Regions from separate parts of the Homo sapiens genome. Here region 1 is linked to region 2. The links are contacts of gene promoters, found by promoter capture Hi-C in blood cells and fetal thymus (Javierre and others, 2016). All regions are on one chromosome and are shown on one strand. Each heading gives the region's core, a stretch centred on a gene start or on the middle of the fragment in contact. The rest is flanking DNA. Distances are from core to core; before and after follow the strand shown.

What was found. The method cuts DNA at HindIII sites, captures the fragments that hold promoters and counts their contacts. A CHiCAGO score of 5 or more calls a contact.
Region 1: a contact is called between a fragment that was not itself captured here and the fragment with the promoter of LIMK2 in region 2, in 1 of 17 cell types (fetal thymus). The highest score is 5.6, in fetal thymus.

Annotation. Positions count from the first base shown.
Region 1 is chr22:29,552,325-29,555,762 of GRCh38, forward strand. It overlaps THOC5 (THO complex subunit 5), which reads right to left and starts at 1,433. Exons shown (of 20, transcript NM_003678.5): 1 at 1,347-1,433. NIPSNAP1 (nipsnap homolog 1) reads right to left here. Exons shown (of 10, transcript NM_003634.4): 10 at 2,484-3,438. RefSeq lists enhancers at 1-255, 1,653-2,350, 1,734-1,803 and a silencer at 1,144-1,333. The HindIII fragment of the contact is 471 bases long and covers 1,402-1,872 here.
Region 2 is chr22:31,210,351-31,214,030 of GRCh38, forward strand. It overlaps LIMK2 (LIM domain kinase 2), which reads left to right and starts at 1,948. Exons shown (of 16, transcript NM_005569.4): 1 at 1,948-2,074. The coding sequence starts at 2,059. RefSeq lists enhancers at 1,489-1,668, 2,631-3,556 and a silencer at 1,649-2,048. The HindIII fragment of the contact is 1,589 bases long and covers 1,456-3,044 here.

The DNA of each region.
Region 1 (3,438 bases), core at 387-2,886, 1.7 Mb before region 2:
CGTCTAGGAAGTGAGGAGTGTCTCTGCCCGGCCGCCCATCATCTCAGATGTGGGGAGCACCTCTGCCCCGCCGCCCCGTCTGGGATGTGAGGAGCACCTCTGCCCGGCTGCGACCCCGTCTGGGAGGTGAGGAGCGTCTCTGCCCGGCTGCCCCGTCTGAGAGGTGAGGAGCCCCTCCACCCAGCAGCCGCCCCGTCCGGGAGGTGGGGGGCAGCCCCCGCCCGGCCAGCCGCCCCGTCCGGGGGGGAGGTGGGGGCCAGCCCCAGCCCGGCCAGCCGCCCCGTCGGGTCGGGGGTAGGGGGGCGCCTCCGCCTGGCCGCCACCCCGTCCGGGAGGTGGGGGGCGCCTCTGCCCGGCCGCCCCTTCTGGGAGGTGAGGAGCCCCTCTGCCTGGCCGCCACCCCGTCTGGGAGGTGTACCCAACAGCTCATTGAGAACGGGCCATGATGACGATGGCGGTTTTGTCTAGTAGAGAGGGGGGAAATGTGGGGAAAAGATAGAGAAATCGGATTGTTGCTGTGTCTGTGTGGAGAGAGGTGGACAAGGGAGACTCCATTTTGTTCTGTACTGAGAGAAATTCTTCTGCCTTGGGATGCTGTTGGTCTATAGCCTTACCCCCAACCCCGTGCTCTCTGAAACATGTGCTGTGTCCACTCAGGGTTAAATGGATTAAGGGCGGGGCAAGATGTGCTTTGTTAAACAGAAGCTTGAAGGCAGCATGCTCCTTAAGAGTCATCACCACTCCCTAATCTCAAGTACCCAGGGACACAAACACTGCGGAAGGCTGCAGGGTCCTCTGCCTAGGAAAACCAGAGACCTTTGTTCACTTGTTTATCTGCTGACCTTCCCTCCACTATTGTCCTATGACCCTGCCAAATCCCCTCTGCGAGAAACACCCAAGAATTATCAATAAATACTAAAACAAACAAACAAACAAATTTTTAATAAACGGTAGTAGAGGTGGTAAGTTGATCTGGCAAAGCCTACAAAGACCGGACCTGAAAGGCTTAAGTGTGGGAAATCCTGACTTTGGCAACACAGTAGAGTGCCTGGCACACCGAAGAGCACGATATATGTGAGCTGTTACCATCACCACCACCCCCACCCCCATCAGGCTACATTACCACAATCAAGAGGCTCCAACGTGAAGCCTGAGGATGCTGCAGCGAACACTTTTCGGATGAGGTAACAGCGCAGCGCCGAGAGGCCGGGGACCGCGGGTAGTGAGGGAGGAGAAGCCGGGTCAGACCCCAGCCCAGGGGCGCCCTTTGGGCGATCAGCACCTCAGTCCCGGAGCGCCCAGCCCCGCCCCATCTCCCAGCCCCACTGCCCTTGTCCCCTCCTCACCTCACAGCTCCAAGAACCTGGCACCGGGAGTAAGCCACTGCCGGAGGCGGAGCAAAGCTTGCCCGCGCACCATAGAGAACCGGAAGTAAGGAAGGGGCGGCCGACCGGAAGCGAGGCGTAGAGGCCGGAAGCTCAGCGCGGAGGCCCCCGAGGGAGGTGGTGGCGTGGTGAGACTGTAAAAACAAAGACACATGCTTCTCGTTCACTGTGCCCAGGGCCTAAGAGAGTGTCCAGCAGCTAGTGGGCGCTCCACCGAGTAGTTGAATTAATGTTGTGTTATGTCCAAGATAACACGAAAGAACCTGGTAGCGCGGCGGGGAAGATTTCGGCGCTAGAGGATTTGCCTGCATAACCTTACTTCTTAATTATTATTTTTACCATAATATGCCACGCCAGTGAAGGCAACAAGTCAGGGAGGGCATTAACCTCATTTTACACTTGGCTTTTTGAGGAGTGCATCACCAGTTTCTCCATTTTAGGCCTGACTTGCCCAGGACAGAGTCACAACTCTAACGCAGTATTTGAAAGCTTCAGGTATTTCCTACCCCTGGCATGAACTGTACAAACAAGGCCCAGGATTTTTTCGTGTAAATCCTCATCTGGAGCTAGTAACACGTGTCCTGAATCCCTGGTTGTACGGGGCCAGTTCCTTCTCCTTCCCAGGAGCAAGGAGGAAAATACTGGCTCTTTTTTATTTTTATTTTTATTTGAGACAGAGTTTTGCTCTCTCACCCAGGCTGAAGTGCAGTGGCGCAATCCCCGCTCACTGCAAACTCCGACTCCAGGGTTTAAAGGATTCTCCTGCCTCAGCCTCCTAAGTAGCTGGGATTACAGGCATGCACCACCATGCCCAGCTAATTTTTGTATTTTTAGTAGAGACAGGGTTTCACCATGTTGCCCAGGCTGGTCTTGAACTCCTGACCTCACTCAAGTGATCTGCCCACCTCGGACTTCCAAAATGCTGGGATTACAGGCGTGAGCCACTGCACCCAACCAGTACTGACTGTTGAGAATAGCTCAAGAACACAGTACCCTCCAGGAGGGTAGATCTGCCATGTGGGACTAAGCCCACCAGCTCTACTGTGCCCTGCCTCAGGCACCTGCTAAAGTTCCTTGCAGATGAAGAAAAGACACTGATTTATAGTAAATATTTAATTGTTTCCATCAGCAATTCCAGCACAAGTTTTCCTGGATGGTAGGCAGAATCAAGCTACCCAAGGGTTCATGATGAGGTATGGGGGTCACTGAGGAGACCCCCAGAGTCACTGACCCCTCCCGCCACCTCCACACACCAGGTGGCCCTGCAGAATGAGGGTTGGGCTGATAGAATGTCAATTAGGGGAGACAGGATACAGGGTGAGGGAACAGGGTCTAGCTTGTATATTTGCCTGCAGGAAGGAGGGAGGGCAGGAGAGACTCTGCATAGAAGGACTGGAACTACACATTTAAGTTTTCAACCCCAATATGCAGGGGGAAACAGCCAAGCCACTCTCCATCTGTCTAGTATTAGGAACCTCTCTTCAAGTGGTCTTTTGTCATCTCTGTTCTTCTTCCCAATTCTGTATTCCAGATTCCAAATTCTACAATTGAAACCCAAGTTCTGAATTCTAAGTTCTACCTTCCGAGTTCCTGTTACGTGTCTGTCTCCTGCCCCTAAATCTTTCCTGGCTCCCATCCCTTTCCCCAGCCCCTCTGGGCAGAATGTCTGAACCTCCTCCTGACCGTGGTGACGAGGTTTGTTTGTATTTGTTTTTTTGTTTTGGCAGTTCCAGGCTTTTCTCCAGCAGGAGGGACTTGGCTCAGACTGTCCAGCAAGTGGGTGGCCCAGTGGAAACCAGGGAATTCCTGAGGGCCTGGCCTGGCCTCCTCTCTTCCCACCCCACCTCTAGCCACTGGACATACTACCTTTTGTGCAACTAAGCTAAACAGAGGATTTCCAAGGGTGATAACTGGGGACTGGTGGCCTTGAGATGAGGAATTTTAGAAGATAAATGAAGGCCTAAAAGATCACTATCTTTCATTCAGGGAAATCAGAAACTACTTCTAGCAGGGGGAGGGAGGCAGGCAGGGAAAGTAGAAAGGGCCTGGGCAG
Region 2 (3,680 bases), core at 698-3,197:
GAAGTCCCCCTTGAGTTCACAAGTGATTTCTGGAATGTTCTTTGGGTCCATATTAAAAATATATCTCTTGGCTATAGCATTTCTATAGAAAGCTATTCCCTTCCATTACATTTTCAACTTGTGTTTCTCAGAGTCGCCTGAACTTCCCTGGGAGGAACTTGGGGGACTTGGCTATTCCCCAGCTCCCTGCTGGTGAAGACCATGAGGCTGGAGGTAGGAGGAAGTGGAATGTGAGAGAGAATGAGGAGGGAGAAGAGATAGACCTGGGTGCCTTGGTGTGGAACGGAGGGAGAGGGAAGACACCCAGGAGGTTTTGGTTCCCAGGATGCCAGTGCTTTGTTGCCTGGGAAAATACAGTGTTACATCTTTCTGTAGGAAGGATGGGGAAAGTCCCTGTCCCCTGTTTGCTAGCCATGAGGCAGCTTGTCAGGAGAGTCTCTGGATTCCTGTCACTTTAATTCAATACACAATCTTGTGTTTACTATAATGATTTCCTCAGAAACTACAAAACTGAGTACTGAAAAGAGTTCCCAGGAATTAACGGAAATGGGACAGAGCCCTCCTCCCCAGCACTTTGTGCACACTCAGGACATCGTGAGCCACCTGCCACACCCAGAAGAGAAAAATCTGACCGGCATCCGGTTTGAATTAGAGCAGGAAGGAAGAGAATTGTGCTCGCCTTTGTCTTTGCCTTTGCCTTTGCTTACCCAACTGCTGGGACCAGAGGCAGCTGGGTTGAACTTTGTCTTTGGTCAGGGGTGGGGGTGGAGGGGACAGAATCCATTTCCCTGGGCTCCATCCTCTTTCTGGTCATTTGGACATGTTTCCTGTGATCTAAATCTGATGTAAGGAAATGACAATTGTGAAAGACCCAGCGTGAGAGAATCTGATGGGAGGGTGGGTCATCAGGGACCAGCTGGCCTGGCTGATGATGTATTAATATCTTAATCACACAGAGGACCCCAATCTCCTTCCAAACCTAATGAGCGGAAGTGGTTCTCAAAGCTACTCAGCCAGCTAGCAGCTGCCATAACCCAGTCAGCTGTCCTAACTCTTAGTCCTGTAATCCCTCCTCCTCATAGAAGATTGTAAACTGGCAGCCCACAGGGCAAATCTAGTGGCCAGGTGTGTTTCATTTGGTCTACATGGCATTTTAAGAACTTTTTGATGCTATCAACATTTTTTAAAAGTGGCAAATTTCACCTAAATATCTGGATTTTTGGCATGTTTTGAAAGGTTGGAAGACCTGGGAATGGTAGGCCCATGTTCCTGCAGGGGAGTGCTCGTCTTCCAATGCGGCGCACAAGCTCCAGCGTCCTGCGCTAAACCTAATTGGCCTGGCTGAGGATCTGCTCCTGGAATGCTGGTTGGTCGCCTCCAACTGTCTTTGACTTAGAGATTATTTACTGTCAGCTTACTCATAGTGGCGCAGAGAAGTGGTTTCTCTGAGCTAGAAGCTTCTAAGAAAAGTCCATCCTCAAAGCTGTTTGTGGGATAGACCTGGCTCCTCCATTGTAATATTCCTGATTCCAAACACTACTGGAAAGAGCTCTGAACTGGCAGTTAGCAGGCCTGGGCTCCCATCCCGGCTCTCCTCCTAATGAGCGAAGCCATTTCAATGTAGTCGAACTTAGCCTCTGATCCTTAACTTTCCCTATCTGTAAATGAGGGCGACTAGATGGGTGCGGACTGTCATCCGTGTTGAGACTTCCGGCCCCCGCAGAATCAACCTTACCGGCGGGAGCACCTCGAGGGGACGCCGCTCGCACTAGGGGGCGCCAGGGCCGCTGCAGAGCCCGAGCCAGAGCCAGGGGGCGGGGCCGCGTCTCGGGAGCGAGGCCTGAGAGCGGCGGGGCGGGGCGTCGGCGGGCAGTCCCCTGTGCCAGGTGTGGTTTGGTCCTCCCAGGGCGCCGTAGGCGGTGCATCCCGTTCGCGCCTGGGGCTGTGGTCTTCCCGCGCCTGAGGCGGCGGCGGCAGGAGCTGAGGGGAGTTGTAGGGAACTGAGGGGAGCTGCTGTGTCCCCCGCCTCCTCCTCCCCATTTCCGCGCTCCCGGGACCATGTCCGCGCTGGCGGGTAAGGAAGGGCTGCTCCGCCCTGTCCCGCTGTTATCTCCGAAGTCCGGTTCCATGGCGCCTGAGGGAAACCGGCTGTCTCTCGGGGGTTTCGGGCTGGTTGGGTCCTCGTGGGTCCGAGCTCCTCAGAAAAGCTGGGAGGCGGGGTGGGCACAGCGCTCCCCAGGCATTTGGAGGGTGGGACTCCGGGAATGGGGAGGCAGGGCATCCTGGAGACAGAGGGCTCCGAGGGGCAGGCGGGTTGGGAGGCTTCCCGCGAGTTGAGGTCCCGGGGAGGAAGAGATTCTGGGTCTGCCAGGAATCCAGCTTTTTGGAGGGACCTGGCGGCCGCAGACCCCCAAATTAACCCTTTTTAAGGAAGTTGAAAAGCATGGGGTTCTCTTATAGTGGAAGCTCTGTGGAATTTGAGGAGTACAGGATCCTCTAGGGTTCAGGACAATTAGGAGAGTTACCCCGGGTTCTGGGTTTTCTGAGGGAAATGGAGGATGTGACTTCCCTGCCAAGACCCAAGGCTTCTCGCGGGCATCTTGGTGTCTGGGAGTCCCCCGGGGCTGGGAGCTCTTTGCAGAAAATAAGGGAGTATGGAGCCCCTTGAGGTTTAGGACAGGACTAAGGGTAAGGAGAGATCGGACCATTCTTTTTGGGGCCCAAAGATCTCTGCTACAGGTGGCGAAAGTAGGCCACCTGGGGTTCTGAGTCCTCCTGTGGAAGCTCCCTTGGCCTCTCTAGACTAAAGACTAGAGGGATTCGGCCAAACACCTCCTGGAAGGAAGAGTTGTCTAAGGGTGAAGGGTAGCTTCAGAGTTGGGTTAGTTGCACCTGCAGTCACCTCCCCGCCACCTCACACACCACCCTGCAGCTTCCTGCCTTCCCCATCTTTTCCCCCAGCAGTAGGAACCTTCTGTCTCCTATGTTTCCCAGCCACCTGTGTGGGTGGCCCACCTCTGGGTCCACCAGGGTCAGCGTCCAGAAGCTTTGGAGAGGCGGCAAGAGGGTATTGAGGTGGAGGGGGGCTGGCTATCTGCCCCCTGCTTCCTGGCTTTCCGTCTGTGGACAGTCACTTCCTTCATCTTGAATGCAAGGACTGGGCTACCAGTGGGTCACTTCCTCAGCAAGGGAGCATGGGATTTTCTCTTCACTGGTGATAACAGACTTCTGGAGAGAGCTAGGGGTGGAAATGCCTAAAACAAATTTTTTTAGGCTGGGCGTGGTGGCTCATGCCTGTAATCCCAGCACTTTGGGAGGGCAGGGCAGGAGGATCGCTTGAGTCCAGGAGTTTGAGACCAGCTTGGGCAATATAGCGAGACTTCATCTCTTAAAAACAAAACCTTGTCTCTTAAAAAAGATTTTTTTTAAGCTTACAGAGTCCTTCAACTCGAATGATTTCCAGTAACTTTTTTTTTTTTTTCTTAGATGGAGTCTTGCTCTGTCGCCCAGGCTGGGGTGCAGTGGCACAATCTTGGCTCATTGCAACCTCTGCCTCCCGGGTTCAAGCGATTCTCCTACCTCAGCCTCCCGAGTAGCTGGGACAACAGGGGCCCGCCACCACGCCCGGCTAATTTTTTTGGTATATTTAGTAGAGATGGGGTTTCACCATATTGGCCAGG